Linked DNA regions of Homo sapiens: all the other regions are linked to region 6. Evidence: promoter capture Hi-C in human tissues and cell types (Jung and others, 2019). All regions are on one chromosome and are shown on one strand. The core of a region is centred on a gene start or on the middle of the fragment in contact, and the rest is flanking DNA. Distances in the headings are between cores, read along the strand shown.

Evidence for each region. The method cuts DNA at HindIII sites, captures the fragments that hold promoters and counts their contacts. A contact is called where the count stands out against the background at its distance.
Region 1: a fragment that was not itself captured here is called in contact with the fragment with the promoter of CHRNA5 in region 6 in 3 of the 25 tissues and cell types used here (dorsolateral prefrontal cortex, mesendoderm cells and thymus).
Region 2: a fragment that was not itself captured here is called in contact with the fragment with the promoter of CHRNA5 in region 6 in 2 of the 25 tissues and cell types used here (dorsolateral prefrontal cortex and mesendoderm cells).
Region 3: a contact is called between a fragment that was not itself captured here and the fragment with the promoter of CHRNA5 in region 6, in 3 of the 25 tissues and cell types used here (adrenal gland, mesendoderm cells and thymus).
Region 4: a fragment that was not itself captured here is called in contact with the fragment with the promoter of CHRNA5 in region 6 in 1 of the 25 tissues and cell types used here (thymus).
Region 5: a contact is called between a fragment that was not itself captured here and the fragment with the promoter of CHRNA5 in region 6, in 6 of the 25 tissues and cell types used here (liver, lymphoblastoid cells, mesendoderm cells and 3 more).

Annotation. Positions count from the first base shown.
Region 1 is chr15:78,693,401-78,696,100 of GRCh38, reverse strand. All of the region lies in intron 2 of LOC105370913 (a long non-coding RNA gene), which reads left to right. Among named protein-coding and RNA genes, the nearest start is that of CHRNB4, 54 kb to the right of the region's middle. The HindIII fragment of the contact is 8,299 bases long and covers 1-2,700 here.
Region 2 is chr15:78,713,524-78,716,223 of GRCh38, reverse strand. The region is part of intron 1 of LOC105370913 (a long non-coding RNA gene); the gene reads left to right. Among named protein-coding and RNA genes, the nearest start is that of CHRNB4, 74 kb to the right of the region's middle. The HindIII fragment of the contact is 5,819 bases long and covers 1-2,700 here.
Region 3 is chr15:78,419,376-78,422,096 of GRCh38, reverse strand. No RefSeq gene overlaps it. Among named protein-coding and RNA genes, the nearest start is that of IREB2, 17 kb to the left of the region's middle. The HindIII fragment of the contact is 6,971 bases long and covers 1-2,721 here.
Region 4 is chr15:78,737,566-78,740,265 of GRCh38, reverse strand. It overlaps the pseudogene DNM1P37. Among named protein-coding and RNA genes, the nearest start is that of ADAMTS7, 73 kb to the left of the region's middle. RefSeq lists an enhancer at 1-807. The HindIII fragment of the contact is 7,094 bases long and covers 1-2,700 here.
Region 5 is chr15:78,396,335-78,399,034 of GRCh38, reverse strand. No RefSeq gene overlaps it. Among named protein-coding and RNA genes, the nearest start is that of IREB2, 41 kb to the left of the region's middle. The HindIII fragment of the contact is 7,261 bases long and covers 1-2,700 here.
Region 6 is chr15:78,564,113-78,566,812 of GRCh38, reverse strand. It overlaps CHRNA5 (cholinergic receptor nicotinic alpha 5 subunit), which reads right to left and starts at 1,293. Exons shown (of 6, transcript NM_000745.4): 1 at 988-1,293. The coding sequence starts at 1,093. RefSeq lists a silencer at 1,006-1,095 and an enhancer at 1,906-2,095. The HindIII fragment of the contact is 8,456 bases long and covers 1-2,700 here.

The sequences.
Region 1 (2,700 bases), core at 30-2,529, 130 kb before region 6:
AGGCCTTGAGTGCCTGCCAAGAGCTGGAGCTTTATCAGGCAGAGCAAGGTCTCTGGGAAGAAGGAGAAACACTGGTGCACCCTGCTGGTGAGGGAGCTGGCGCCTGTGGCAGGGGTCTGGGGGCTCTCTCCTTGCACATCCAGCTGGGCCTAAAAGTAGTACGTCCCATCTGACTTTTTCCAAGGAGAGTTTGACTTCCTTTCCCAGCACTGAACTTGTTTCTGCTTGACATAGTGACAAAACTGTGTGTATTTTACCTGGGGCTGGAGATCAGTCAGCATCAAAAGTAGCAATTTAAGAAGACAAGACTGGCGAAGGGAATGTAGCCCTGAACTATCCAAAGGCCAAAATACTTTTTTTGTGGCCTTCAAGGCCCCTGGTGTCTGGCTAAAAGGAAGAGCACAAAGATGTATGGCTGAAGGTCTGTGTTCTCATCCCATCTCTGCTATCAAGCTACTATGTGCAAACACTCAACCTCTCTGAACCTCAGTTTCCTCATCTGTAAATTGATGAGAATATTGCCACCCTCCCTGGGCTTATGGGAGGTTCAAATCAAGTTCAGCTCTACATAGATATTTGACACTGATTTGCAGTCTTCCTCAGCTGCCCCCTGCAAGCTCTCAGTTCCTTATCTGCTGGGGCTGGAGGTAAAAGGACCAATCAGGAGGCAGCTGAGGCTTTCCACAGAAGTGCCCCTGGGTAGCAGAATCAGAGTATAACCAAAAAAGGACCCTCAGTGATAAAGGAGAATGACAGAAAGGAGGGGAGACAAAGGAAGGGAGGTGGGCTTGAGGGTGGGGTGCAAAAGCTGTTCATTCATCTCTCATTTATTTGAACCTATCATGTGCCAAGCACCATGCTGGGCCTTGGGAACTCAGATGAACAAGACTCTCATTCATTCATTCATTCATTCATTCATTCATTCATTCATTGAACATATAGTTATTAAGGGACTTGTATGAAGCTGCCAGGTTCTGGCATAGAGAGGGGGGGTCAGGTAAGCAAATGAGCAATTGCAATCCAGGCTGGTGAGTAGACTAGGAGAGGATGTAGAGAGGGGGGCAAAGGGCACTGCAGATGGAGGAGGCCTCCTATTCTGAGGCTGCAAGGAATTCCCCAAGGCTGGAAGGGACAGTATGTGTTGTGGTTAGAGGGGAGGCTGAAAAGGCCAAGAAAGACCCTGAATGCCACCAAGAGTTTGGAACACATGTACGTAGCTACTGAGCACCTTCCCAAAGGGAAACGCCAGACTCAGATTTTAATTTGGCTACAGTGTGGCGAGTGGAATGAAACTGGGGGATGAAGCAAAGAGGAGGGTAAGAAGGAAGAGATGAGACTGTGGAGATGGTTGAGAGGACTGGGTGACTGGCCTTTAGAGGGTAGGGAGAGGGGACAGGCAGCCATGCAGCCTGTATTCACTGAATGGGAGCAGAGCAGAGTGTTGGGGAACTTACTAACCAGGCAGGCTGCTAAGCCCACCCCAGGTGCACTGAATCAGAATCTCTGGAGTGGGGCTCAGCAATGTGTATACTGCAGCTCAGTGTTCCTGGTCTTGGTGGTCGTGTAGAGGATCCCTAAGACCAGCCATGGGCTCAATGATTTGTTATAAGGATGCAAAGGACTTAGAAAAGCCATTATACCCTTGGTCATGGTTCATTACAGGGAAAAGATACAGATTAGAATCCGCAAAGGGAAAAGGGACAAAGTCTAGGAGAAACCAGGCACCAGCTTCCAGTTATGCTTTCCCAGTGGAGTTGCACAGACAGTGGTTAATTCTCCCAGCAATGATGTGTGACAGCACATGCTAAGTGTTGTCTACCTGGGAAGCCCACCCAGGCAAGCCTTAGTGTTCAAGGTTTTTCTTGGGGGGTCAGTCATGCAGGCATGCAGCTCCTGGGTGACTGACCCCAGCTACTCAGGCTTCAGTCCTTAAAGAAGTCGTATTGATACACCAAGGCCCAAAGTCTCAGGCATACAAAAACATTCTTACAAGGCAGAATATTCAGCCAGGTGTGGGCATGGTGGCTCACGCCTGTAATCCCAACACTTTGGGAGGCCGAGGCAGGTGGATCAACTGAGGTCAGGAGTTCGAGACTAGCCTGGCCAACATGGCGAAACCCCGTCTCTACTAAAAATAGAAAAAAATTAGCCAGGCCTGGTGGTGGGTGCCTGCAATCCCAGCTACTCGGGAACCTGAGACAGGAGAATCGCTTGAACCCAGGAGGCAGAGTTTGCAGTGAGCCCAGATCGTGCCGCTGCACTCCAGCCTGGGCAATGGAGTGAGAATCCACCTCAAAAAAAAAAATAAATAAATAAATAAAAGGCAGAATATTCTAAAGTTATCTCCCCAGATGTGGTCAAGGGCCAATCCTCTTTTTGGAATGTGCAGGGTTGGAGTGACCCAAGGCTGCTGAGCAAACTAACCCTTTACTGTCCAGTGGTCTATATTAGAATGGCCTGGGGAGCTTTCAGAATGCCCTATGGCCAGGCTGCACCCAGACCAATCACTCAGAGTCCCTGGAGAGTCTATCCAAGGTCAAGACCCACAGCCATAGATAGTAATTGGTACCAAAGGGGAGTGAGCTCATCCCAGAGGGAATGAGGAGAGAGTGGTCACAGGTGGAAGAGATGCCCAAGAGCAGTGGACTAAGGATCAGCAGAGGCTGCAGACTGCGAGAAGGATGGCACACAGAGAAGGAG
Region 2 (2,700 bases), core at 118-2,617, 150 kb before region 6:
AGCTGGCTTCATTTGAGAAATCTTTCCCCAGCACTCCATATATTATGAATAATTCCTTTATTCTTGTTTTGATAGCATCTTAGTCATATCTCTATTACCTCACTTGTCACATGATAATCAGTTGCTCCCCCATCCATCTCCCTTGATTGCTCATGAGCTCCTTGAGAAGAGTCTGATTTTCAGCACTTTGAACAGTGTGACACATATATGCTTCATATGCAGAGAAGGACATGATTTCACTACAGTGTAACTATTCCCAGAATTCAATGCCTGTATTTCTAAATTGTTCTAGATACTCTGCAACAACCTGAGAATGTTATGTTTTTCCCTAAAACTTCCATCCATTACTGAGTGTCTATGGTCATAGTTAACTCAATTGCAATGTGACCTCTGGCCAAGCCCATTCCTAGTTTTTTTTTTAGGTGATTTTTAATTTTAAATTTTTATTTTGATTGTTTCCTTTTTGTTTTTTCTAATCTAGCAGTGGTTGGTAAATTTCAACATCTGTATATCCCTGTGTCTTTGCACCTGCTGGTCTCTGCTTGGAATATCTCAAGGTTTTATTCACCTGGAAAAAATTTCTACTCACCCTTAAAGAATCAGCTTAAATAGGTCGGTGTGGTGACTCATGACTGTAATCCCAGCACTTTGGGAAGCAAAGGCGGGTGGATCACCTGAGGTCACTAGTTCCAGACTAGCCTATCCAACATGTTGAAACCTTGTCTTTACTAAAAATACAAAAAATAGCCGGGCGTGGTGGCAGATGCCTGTAATCCCAGGTACTCGGGAGGCTGAGGCAGGAGAATCAGTTGAACCCAGGAGGCGGAGGTTGCAGTGAGCTGAGATTGTGCCATTGCACTCCAGCCTGGGCGACAGTGTGAGACTCCGTCTCAAAAAAACAAACAAAAAAATTCCAGAAGAAAGTTTCTGCTTGGTCTGGTCTGGGTTGGCTGGGTAGCTGGGACGCTAAAACTGCCAAGCCCTCTAGTGTCATGTGGTTGAAGCAGGGCCGGGAGATGTATTAGTCAGTTCAGGGTGCCATGCCAAAATACCACAGATGGGTGGCTTAAACTGCAAACATTTATTTGTCACGGTTCTGGAGGCTGGGAAATCCAAGACCAAAGTGCCAGCAAGGTAGGTTTCATTCTGAGGCCTCTTCTCTTGGCCTGTAGGTGGCTGCCATATTGTGCACTCATGTGACCTCTTCTTTGTATTTGTGCAGAGAGAGAGTGAGTGCACCCTCTGGTGTCTTGTCTTATAAGGACACTAATCCTACTGAATCAGGGCCCCACCCTTAGGACCTCATTCAAACTTAATGACTTCCTGAGAGGCCTCATCTGCAAATACAGCCATGCAGAGGGTTAGGGCTTCAACATATGAATTTGGAGGAGACAGAGACACTCAGTCCATGATGGGAAGAAAAACTATTCATGAAAAAAGGGGTGCAGTGGCCAGAAAAGGGGGCAGACAAAATATTCTCCCCATTTCCCCCAATACACAACACAACACACACACACACACACACACACACACACACACACAGAGCCCTGACTTTGCCCCTTCCTCACAAGGCCACTCCCCACCCATAATCATTTACCTCCCTCCTATCCTGCTCTCTGGAGCTGCCCCTTCCCCTAAGTTGTCCTGTGGCTCACTGATTGCTGCATGCAGGTAGGTGCATGTAAATGTAGCTGGGGCTGGGAACCTCCTGGACCATGTGTGTCCTGAGCCCCACTATGAGACTGGGCAGGAAGTGGGTCTCACCCATGTCTCCTGTCCTCAGGCAGAGCCTAGCCTTGGGACATGAGCTCAGAGGATGCTGCAGCTTTGTTGGATTCACCTCAGGCCCCCTTTCTCCCCATCCACTTATAAGGTTCCCAGGGCCTTGATACCTCTGTCCTTGGAAGAAAAGAATGTGATTACCCAGCTCACTCAAACCTGCTCGTGGCTTCCCGCAATAGAAGCACAAAATTTTCTAATTCAAAAGAGTCTACCAAGTGACTAGCAAAGTGAATGAGGAAAGACCTACAACAAGGCACATCATTGAGAAATCCAAAGATAGAAAATCCTAATATCTTCCAGAGAGAAAAGACAGGTCACATGTAAAGAGCCAAGATTCTGCACGATACTGACTTCTTACCAACAACACTGGGAACTAGAAAATAATAGAGCAGTATTTCCCAATGTGAGAAGTTACTTTCAAATTAGAGCATTATATCCAGCCAAACTGTTAATCAGGAGTTGGGGTAGAACAATGACATTCTAAAATATGTGAAGGTAAGAAAGCTTGGCTTCCATTCACTGCTTTTCAGGAAGCCACTGGAAGATGTACTGCAACATAATGAGACAGTGAACCAGGGAAAAAGAAGATCTGGGGCAAGGGAACAGGAGATGCACACAGAAGAGGCAGCAGGAAATTCACACAATGGTGCAGAGACATGTCAGAATGCCAGCCATGCCACAGGCTGAGAGCTGAGTCCAGTTTGGAGCATAAGGATGGAGGGCAAGGGAGAGAGGGAAGCCTCCAGGAAAATAACAGGGCTGATAGAGTAGCTCGTGTATCTTAGTTTTAGATAATTATTACCAGGCATTTCATAGATCAGTTGGAGTAACTGAAAGAAAGGTAGTTAATAGGTACAAAAACATATAAGCAAACGAAGGGAAAAAATTTGAAGCAATTATTAACTCCAGGGGGAAAAA
Region 3 (2,721 bases), core at 114-2,613, 140 kb after region 6:
TTATGACTGTACCACTGCACTTCAGCCTGGGTGACAGAGCAAGACCCTATCTCTAAAAAGCACACACACACACACACACACACACATATATACACACACACACACACACACACACACACACACACAATCCATCCTGGTTCAGGCCACTATCATCTCTGCTCTGGATGATGACAGCAGCCTCCTAACTAGTCTCAGCACAACAGCCAGAGGATGCTGTTAAAGTGGAAGCCAGCTCATGTCATTCTTTGCTCAGAACTCCACACTGGCTCCCATCTTAGTCAGTGTAAAATTCAAAGTCCTCACGATGGCCTCCAGGGTCCTGATCTGACTCCTCCTCTTTGGCCTCATCTCCTACATCCTTTGCTCACTCTGCATTAGTCTCATTCCTTGCTCTTTGCTGTTCCTTTAACACCAAGCACAATCTCTTCTTTAGGCCTCTGCATTTTCAGGTGCCTTCTCCTAGATAGCCACATAGATTGCTCCTTCACTTTCACTGGGTCTCTGCTCCAATTTGCCCAGCTCGGTGAGGTCTTCCTGAACACCCAACATATATGGCAAACCCCAGCACCCCTTATACTCATTCTTTTCATTCCTCTCCGTAGCACTTATTGATACAGAATGGCTGAGCGCCCAGCTAAACTCCACCCTTAAGCCTGGAGCCATGGCCCTAAGTGAAAACAGCTGACCCCCTTTTTTTCCATGAAAATGTTGCTTGTTTGGTCTGCCCTGCTCCTCTCCCGTGCCCATAAAAAGACTTCAGCTGGCAAAGCAACACAAGCGGCTGACCGGTGGGGATGCAGGCTGCTGGGAGTTGGGGATACAAGAGGCTGAGCAGTGAGCAGAGAAGCAGCAACTGAGCGTTGGAGACTATGGATAGATGCAGCTAACTTCAGACAGTGCGGCTTCAGGGAAAGATCACCTTCTTCCCACACAATCCCCTTTCCAGCTCCCATGTTGCTGAGAGCCATCACCCAATAAAATCCTCTGCATACACTACCCTTGAACCCGTTCTTGTGACCTGATTCTTTCTGGATGCTGGACAAGAACCTGGGTGCTGAGAGGGCAGGGGCTTGGACACTGCTGCAGGGATGCACAGAGCCTGCTCTCACCAGAGAGAAGTGACTGGCCGGTTCCAGCATTCGTTCCCTCCGGTTCCTGTACTCGCTTGCACGCTCCCTCTCATGAGGAGTGGCCAGCGGTGGGCTGAGTGAAACAAGCCACTCCAGTTCCTGCCCACGAAGGGGGTCAAGGTCAAGGGAACCATCCCATCTCATTATCATGGTCTAATATGCTGCACATTTAACTCATTTGTTTGTTGTCTATTTCCTACTAGAACATAGGTTCCATGAGGCAGGGACTTGGTTGTTTTGTTCACTGCTGTATCCCCAGCCCCTAGAATTGGCACATGGTAGGTGTTCAATAAATATTTATGGGAGAAAAAGCATGAATCAAGTGATCCTGCAGGCAAGCTCAAAGAGAGACGCAACTTGTCTCTCTGAACCTGGAGTGGGAAACATCAGAGGCAAAGATACCTCTATTGATTCTGGTCATATTCACCTCTGTGACTTCCGTTAAGTGAGCGCTTAAATTTTCAAGTTAAAAAGGTTTTTCCCCATTGAGGGTGTATCTATGGTGTTGGCAGGAGGGATGGTGGAAAATTGCTCAAGCAGCAGCAAAAAGCAGAAGCCAGACAAGCTGAGGCTCCTCCAGTCCATGCGGTGGAGAGACCTAGGGAAGGTTTCTCATTCCTGGGTCAAATGTCACATAACCTAGTGCTTTTTCTCTCTTAGTTTTAAAACTGCCTTTGGAAAATTATGACAGTAAGAGAAATCTGACATAGTTGACTCCATCTTGCTTCTGACTTCCAAGCTGTTCTTGGTCATTCCTGGGTATAAGTCAAGTTAACCTTGGGAAGAATTCATAGTTTAACTTGAAAGCAAAGATGATAATAGTCCCTTCCTAAAACTAACTCCCTCCTCGCTCAGGGACTGACAACAGCCTATGTCAGACTAATGAAAAGCCATAAGAGGCTAGGTGCAGTGGCTCACATCTGTAATCCCATCACTTTGGAAGGGGGGGAGGTGGGCAGATTACTTGGGGTCAGGAGTTCAAGACTAGCCTGGCCAACATGGTGAAACCCCATCTGTACTGAAAATACAAAAATTAGCTGGGCATGGTGGCACATGCCTGTAATCCCAGCTACTCAAGTAGGTTGAGGCAGGAGAATCGCTTGAACTAGGTAGTTGGAGGTTGCAGTGAGCCGAGATTGTGCCACTGTACTACAGCCTGAGCAAAAGAGCAAGATTCTGTCTCAAAAAATAATAATAATAATAATAAATTTTTTAAAAAAGCCATTAGAATATGGGAGGGGCTTGAACTCTGCTAGAATGTAGGGATAACTTCTATAATCCCTAAAACATGAGCAGTAATGCTCAGGGGTCACGTGGCCAGAGGTCACAAGACTTGTGACTTTCCTAATTGCTCCTATAGATAACATCACTATTGTAGAACCTAAGATTAGATTTTTTTGAGATGTTTTCCAGACTGACCCTACCTGGACTCGTGACTCATGACTCAACTGGTCCTGTGGCCCCACCCAGAGGCGGGCTCTGTGCATGAGGACTGCTTTCCACACCCTTGTAATTTCATCCCCAACTAATCAGCAGTACCCATTCCCTAGCCCCCTGCCCACTAAATTGTCCATTAAAACCCTAGGCCTCT
Region 4 (2,700 bases), core at 27-2,526, 170 kb before region 6:
AGGGTATCCAGATCCCAGCCTGGGAGTGTCAAGAGTCAAACCCACTGCAGAGGAGGGGTGATAGTCAGGGTCCCACCTCCTCTATCTGTTGGCAATCCCTGGTGATCTAGGATAAAACCTTAAGAGTCCCATACACACGGTCATCCCACAACACACTTCACAGGCCAGGCAGGGACACACAGCCCCCTTCCCTCCCTGCCAGGTACCACCGCAGCTGCTAGCGTGTGACTGAAGGCAGGGTCCCTGGCCCCCACTGAAGCACTATCGCCGACCAGCAGGCTCACGCACCTTGGCCTGTTGCTCCTAGGGGTCGCCTGTGCTATTCAGCCAAGGGGACCACAGTGCCTGCTGGCCCAGCTGAGCTCCGCCTAGCGAGCCCACCTGCCTCTCCTGCCATGGACTCTCCCTCTTCTGCTTTTCCCAGCAGGAAGGACCCAGCCTCAGCTATGAAACTTGCAGCCCCCCTCACCCCGCAACCAGCTGAGGCTCCCCTCTTAGACTTATAAGTCTATGGCCAGTGGCATCCGGCTACCTGCCCTCCCTGCCTTCCCCAGGGTCCCTTCAGAGGACCCTGGACTTTCTCACCACCAGAGGGGCCTCTGGTACTCACTCCAGCCATCCATCCCTTATAGCTTCACCATTTTGGTTCAAGCAGTGTTCCTTATCAGGCCAGGTGGCTGTTGGGTGGGGCTCCCCAAGCAAGAGGTGGCCCTGGGCCAGTGGGTTGGAAGGCAGGGTGACCAGAGAAGAGAGAAGCCCAAAGCGGCTGAGCATTGGTCTGAAGTGTGGGTGCACTGCCTGGGTGCCATGGGAGAGGCCAGTGTGTGTGAGCTGGGGAGGGCTGCCGCAGCCCCCAGGCACTACCTGTGAAGCTCTGGCTTCTCCCTCCATCTTCCTCCCCTTTCCCTTCCAGCCCCTCTTTTCCAGGAACCTTTGCTACACCCGCACCTGCGCGCTCCCCTCCCCGGCCCTCCCACAGCTGCTGCGACATGCCCGTGCTCTGCGCTTGCATCACCAGCTCTCTGCTTGCTATTCTCTCTCCTATTTTCTCTCTGCTTTTCTCCAACTGCCAACTGATTGGGTTAGGCAAGTCCATCCCATCCTGAGAGCTCCAGCCCCACTCCAACCTCTAAACAGATCCTCCTCTTCTCAGAGACCTCCCTTTCCAAGCCTGCCTGGGCGGGTGTCCTGTGACTTGACAGTGGCTCCCCAGCCCCAAAGCCAGCCCCCTTCATCTGTGACTTAGTCTGTTGTAGTGGTGAGCTGACACATCCAGGTGTGACCATTGCTGAAAACTTGTGGCCCCTCTGTGGTATGCCCCTGCCTTGTTCTATAAATAGCTATAAATACTCATATATATATAAATATAAATATATATATAAATATACATATATATAAATATATATATAAATATACATATATATATATATATATACACACACACACACCTACATATGGCCGACCACCTCGCCTCTAGCACTGGGAATCAGTCACCGTGCTGTCCTTGTGGAGTCTTGTGGCCCAACAAAAGGAAGGTCTCCCCTGACACTGCCCCTCCAAAGTGTGCCACCTCCAGTGAGCCTGCCTGTCATGCCCAGCCTGTGGACAGCCAGCCCCCGCCATCCGTCCCACCCCCCCACCGTCCCACCCCCCGCCATCCCTCCCACCCCCCACCAAGCATGGGGGTGCTGTGCAGGCAGCTGTGTGGCCTGACAGTCTCTACCAGCCCTGGTGTCCCTTGGCTGAGAATCAAACCCATTTCTGGATGATGGGGAATGTGTCCTCTGCTGGCTGTGTTCTCTGTGGAGCTGAGGGGAGGGAAAAAGCCAAGCCATTTCTAGGGTGCTGTTGGGAGCGGTGAAAAGGCCACACCCTTTCCAAGGGACACTTCCTGGAAAGCCCCTGGAGCTTAGCTGGCTCTTATCCTGTGAAGCTGGCTCTGGCCACTAGGGGGCAGGACCATGAACTCAGCCTGGAGGAGCCTGCGGGGCAGCTGACACTCTAGAGGGCCAGACAGAACAGGCCACCCTGTGCAGACAGGAGAGGGAGGCAAGGGGACGGAACCGAAGACGACTGGGGTGAATGGAAGTCAGTGGCCTTGGGTGCTCGTATCTGCCTTCCCGGCCACCGCTAGATCAGGCTTCTGAGCCTGTTGGCTGTCAGGGCCGGACTGTGCCCCATAGGCGCCATAGCAATCCCCATGCAATCTACCAGGTGTCACCAGGCAGCATACAGGTAACAGGCCTGGAAGGTCCCCAACAGCCCAGCTGGACATGCTCACTCTGGGGCTCTTCATTCAGTGGCGCAAACTCCAGGACCCAGTGAGGGAAATGGGAACCCACCAGGCTGAGCAGTATGGCTAAATCCATTTATTCCAAAATGGAAAGCAAAATAAACAGGAGTCACATCACCAAGGCAGCCAGGACCCCATCCCCTCCTCCTTCCTCTGTCCTATGCTATCAATAAATAAGTTTCCCAGCCGTAAATAATGATTAGAACCTCCTCCTCATATGCCAGCTCCAGCCTCTGGTAGGTATGATACAAGGGGTGGCCCTACCCCCCGGAATATACAAAATGTTACACAGATACTATGTGTACACTGGGGAAGGGGGGCCACCCCAGCAGCCCGAGCCCTCACCTGCTCTACAGTTAGCCCCACTGTCCCGCCTCAGCTGCCTCTCTGAATAAGATGGGAGCCCC
Region 5 (2,700 bases), core at 120-2,619, 170 kb after region 6:
CTACTGACCAACTTCTACTCTCAATTTTCATCTGTAGAATGAGAAATGTTTTTAGTAATTAAGAAATACCCAAATATTAGTAAATACTGAAAATAGTAGTACCTTCCTAGTAGAACTGTTGAGAGGATTAAATGAAAAAAGTACATACAAGGTACTTAGCTCAGAGCCCGGCGCTTGGTAAACCCTCGCTAAATATTAATTAGCAGCTATTATTAGGGGGAAAGGAAAAGCTAGTCTGGTAGAATCACAAGCACCAGGAAGCCATCAGGGAGGTGGGGAAAAAGGGCGGTTCTTTCTGGAGTCAGGAAGGTAAAGCCATTCTTATCCGGCCTTGGAGCCTTGGAGGCAAGGTCCCCTCCTGTCAGTCGTCAATGTTGCCCACTGGTTTCCCTGGAAAGAATGAGAATCCTGGGTCATTCTGGGCAGCGGTGACAGGTCCAGCCTCCTATCTCTGCAGCTTTGTCTTCTCAGGAGCGTCACTTGCTTACAGCCACCCTCGGCTGCTTCTTCTTAAATCATCTCCACATCACAATCACAGAGGGTTGGGAGCCCGCCTGCATCTCAGGGGCTCCAGCTGTCTCCCATGGAATACGAATAGCACTGTCGGGCTGTTGGTCTTGTTGCCTTTGCAATCTGCTTTCTGCACAATGTCTAGGTTGAGCACATTTGCAGGCTCAGTGAAGCCATTATTTTTCTTGGTGACATTTTCTGGCAGCAGTCTAAATTCGTGAAGAGCTGAGGACAGCCTTTGCCTATGCCTGGAACTGGGTGGCCTACTTCCCCATTGCCATCTGTGTCTATTTGTCCCTGGACTTAGACACAGACTCATTCACACCCAGACCAAAGAATCCCAGGTCAGTGGAGCTCAGGTGTAGCTCTTGTCAAATTAAAAGGTACGTGGGATGCCCCAGGGATCCTGTTAAACTGCAGACTCAGTAGGTCTGGGGCCAGGCCTGAGAGTCTGCATTTGTAACAAACTCTCAGCGCCATTTCATCTGATGGTGCTGGTCCATGGACCAACCACACTGAGTAGCCTAGTGGTTCTCAAGCTTCATCCTGCATCAGAATGACCCTCAGGTCTTATTAAAACACAGATTGCTGGGCCTTTCCCAGTCTGATTTTGAAGGCCTAGGGTAGATTCCAATATTTTGCATTTCTAAGAAGTTCTCAGGTGATACTAATGCCGCTACTCTAGGGACTACACTTTGAGAACAATTGTTTTAGTTTCCCGACCTTTCCATTACCTTTATTATTATTCCTTGAGTTCTGTGACTTTCTTCGAGTTCTCTAGTCCTGACCACTTGCCACAGTTCAGTCCTGCTGAGTACCTCCAGTCTGTCATATCTATAACTGACAATGCCCCAACTTGGCCAATGACACCTTTGTGTTCCTTTTGGCCTCTGTCTTGAACCTGTTGCCCTGGCTTGCTTCACACTCTGCAAACTTGCCAGCCTCATTTTCTCACCCACAGCTTCTCCGGGTCCTTTCAGCCTGAGCCCTAACATGGTATCTCCAGCCTTGGTCTTTGTATCACTGCTCTGCCAACCCCAGACTTCCTGCCCTGGCTGGCCTGGGTGAGGGGTTCACTCCTGCCCTAGGCACCCCCCTCTTTTTCTGGCTCCTCTAGGGGCACCAGGCAGCTGTCAGGGCCCTGGCATGCAAGGCTGTGCCCAAGGGAAGCGGACATCATGGAGCTAATTAAACCAACGTGGACCCAAGTGCCTGGAATTCAGGAGGCTGTCCTCTCCCACCCACCCCAACAGAGCCCCGCAGACGCTGGAGTGAGTTAGTTTGACCTTCTGGATTGATGCAGTTAATGAGATGGTTGTGTAATGCTTTGTTTAACAGAACTGGTTTCTGGGCCCGGCCCAAAGCTAGGCTGGACTCTGGCTGGCTTCCATGCCCCAGCCCTGCTTGCTCCCTTGAGGCTCCCTCTGGCCAGTGCCCTCTAGGGGCCGGGGCTGATATGTTTATTGCTAACTACTCCGAACTCGTCTGCCTCCTCTGAGGAACCCGGGGACAATTCCTCTGACCTTTCCCTGCAAGCTCCATCTCTGTGAAACTTGGTCTCACAAGCTAGCCTTTCTTGCTTGGAGAATCTGTGTTTGAAGTCAGAGCAGAAAAAAACAGGCTTTTCAGGGCCCTGCTTGTGGCAAGTAAGTGACAGCTCGAGGGCCTGGTAGCCATACCTCTGTGACTAATAATCTTTGGCCTCAAAGATGCAATTTCCTTTCTCTTCCTTGCTATAGCTCCCAAAGTTCTTTCTCACCTATATGACAGCTCTTGCTTCAACTATTCTAGGTCGTCCTCCCGGAGTCTAGCACACGGGAAGGCCAAAGGCTTGGTATCAGACTGGCCTGGGTTTGAATCACAACTCCATCACTTTCTAGCTGTGTGACCCTGGGCAAGTGATTTAACCTCTCTGAGCCACAGTTGCCTCATCTGTAAAATAAGGAACACAGTCCCCATCACCTCACTCCTAGGGACAGTCCAGGGAGAAAGTGAGAGGATGTGGTGAAGCACCCAGCACAGTGTCCAGTACGCAGGGGTCTTACTGGTTACCCCCATCCAACCCCAGCACCCTCCAAGGGGCTGGGCTTCACACGGCTCAGCTCTTCAGACAATAAATGAGTGATTTGGGCCGGGCACAGTAGTTCACACCTGTAATTCCAGCAGTTTGAGGGGCCAAGGCAGGTGGAT
Region 6 (2,700 bases), core at 44-2,543:
CCCTCCATCTTATTTCTCTTCGGTCTACACTAAGCAATACATCCTGCAATGAATTATTCTAGTCTTATTACTTCCTAAAATCAGGAGCCATAGATTAAAAACCTTAACAAAGGAAAGGCAAGAAAAGGTTCTTGCAATATTTCCACTATTTAAGAAACTCACTCATAAAACCTGAAATACAGACGTAGTGAACTTCTGTAATCATATCTTGCTTAACGGATGCTTAGCTTTTCTACGTTTAGATCACACCATAGCTGCTCCACAAACGTGTTTTTCTTCAAGGTATTGAGAGAACTGACTCTAAAACTTTCCCAAGCACTTGAAACATGTAGGACTACGCGATTTCTTTTGTTGTTTCCATTCCTGTCCAAAACCTCTTGAAAAACAGCAGGCTGAAAAAAGCTGTGCTCTAAGGAGCTAGTGAGGAACTCTGGATGCAAACGATTAGCCCCGAAGCCAGGGAAGTTGGCCGCCTAGCCTGCTACAACACACACCTTTCATCTCCGGCGAAAGGAAAGGTTTTCAAATGCTGCGGTGGGTAGGGGACAGGGATGGAGGAAGAGGCGGCGGGCAGGAGGTGGAAGATAAGTCCCAACCCCTAGAATGAACCCCAGAGTCTCTATATCCCGTAAATGGGCAACAAAATGGGAAGCTTGGCTGCCACCAGGACAGGAAAGCCCTGCTGGACAAGAGTGGCATCTTTTACTGAAAAAGTTGTGTGGAAGTATACGCTAAGCCAGCCTCGTAGTCTCCAGCGATGCAGGTCGTGGAACAACAAAGAAAACCCACCCAAGTAGCCCTTTCTCTGCATTTAAATGAGCAAATCTGGACATTTAAACTGAAACCTCACTCCAAGCCCCCAGGAGAAAAAAACCCACCTCCCCTCGCAACCAGGTTTTCCGGCGGCCGTCGCCTGGCGGCTTCCTGGGCACCGCGATGTGGAGTCCGGGCCAGCTCCCGCCCCGCCCCTCTGCAGCCCGGGCTTACCTCTCTGCGCGCCGCCCGCCGCGCCCGCTAGACCGCAGCGCCCCGCGACCAGCTGGACCAAGAGCAGCAGGCGGAGCGCGCGGGGCCCTGACCCCCGCGCCGCCATCGCCCCGCGCCCGCGCGGGACCGCGGGCAGCCGCCTCTCGACCGCCGCGCGGGGAACGCGAACTCTTGGGGAATGGAGCACTGAGTGTGAGTCGTGAGACAAAACGAGGGCAGACGCAGCAGAGGGGCCGCTCCGCGCCACAGCTCCCGCCGGGACAGCAGCCTCAGCCTAGCAGCTTCTGGCGGGCTCGGGACGCATGTGGAAGCTCCCGGCGCCTAGCCCCGCCCCTATTTCCCTCTGGCCCCGCCCAATCCTCGCCTTGTTCCTTTTGGCCCAGTCCGGTCTATTCATAGCCCCGCCTCCGATCCCCACCAACCCTTTCCCCACCCCGCCCCGCCTCTGGTCCAACCCTGTCTGCTCCTAGCTCCTCTTTTTCCACGCCTGGCCCAGCCCCATCGCCCTGGCCCCCGCCTCCAGGCCTTCCTTTGGGCAGGTGCGACCCTGGAGCAGAGTTCCAGGAAGGCAAAGACTTGAGGCTGGCATCGCAGGCGCGTCCTTCTCTAACCACCGGATGTCCTTGGCCTAGTCACTGCACACCTTAAGATAACAGCTATTCATTGATGTCTGCTCTGTGCTCAGCACCAAAAGGGGAAGCAGAGGGACAGATTGCTCCCAGCTGATAGAAAATGTAAATAAAGTAATTCCGAGTTGTGATCAGAAAGAAACAAGCTGGAGGCTGGGGCAGAATCACAGTGGTGGGGGACTTGCTCCAGGCTGCAGCGCTCTCCATGGGCCCCGCTGCCCACTCAAGTCTTTCTCACCAGGAAGTACCAGTCGCAGCTTGACTGCCTCCTGGGGCTGTCGTGTCAGCCAAGGGGTCCCCACCAGGAGACCTGTGTTGTGGACCAGCGAGACAACCCTGGGCAAGTCACTTTCCTCTCTGGGCCTGTTTCCTCGTCTGGAAGCGAGGAACCGAGGCAGATAAACTAGAGGACTCGGGAAGGTACAGCTCTGACACTCACTCAAGCCATCCCCGGAAATGATATGCAGTCGCCTCAAACGTGGGCATCGCCCTCCGTGTTGTCATCAATTAACATTTGTAAATATTAGTGACTATCTGCTACAGACACTTAGCACCTCTGGTGGAGATTGGTGCCGACTGCTGGAAACCCGTCTCAAATCCCTCCAGACCCTATATTTCATCCTCTCTGTCCATAATTAGAAAGCTTCATTTGGCTGAAGGGATTCAGGCGAATTATCTTTAAACTTCAGTGGCAGAGGGAGCCGCTGACTCTTCACAGAACGCTTTATGGAGGTGACACCTCTAAGACTCATTGTGAGCAAAAATTTCACTCCACCCTCCAGACTAGTAAATCTGTGAAAAACTAAACCTGGTTGCAAAGAATCTAAACAGCAAAATTCAGTGAAGATGCTCTTCTTAGGTCCAAATACAGCTGGAAAAATGTAAATTACATCCAATGGAGCCAATCTGTTTAAACAGGACTTAAACAAAGGGGCCACAGAAAAGGGATGCACAAGATGTTAACCAGATTAGTAATTAATTGCACTTCTGCACAGAAATGAAAGACAGTACCTATCATCCTTTCACTGCAAATTTACATTTTACTCTGAAGAATTTATGGGACTTACAGGCACTTATGCAATTC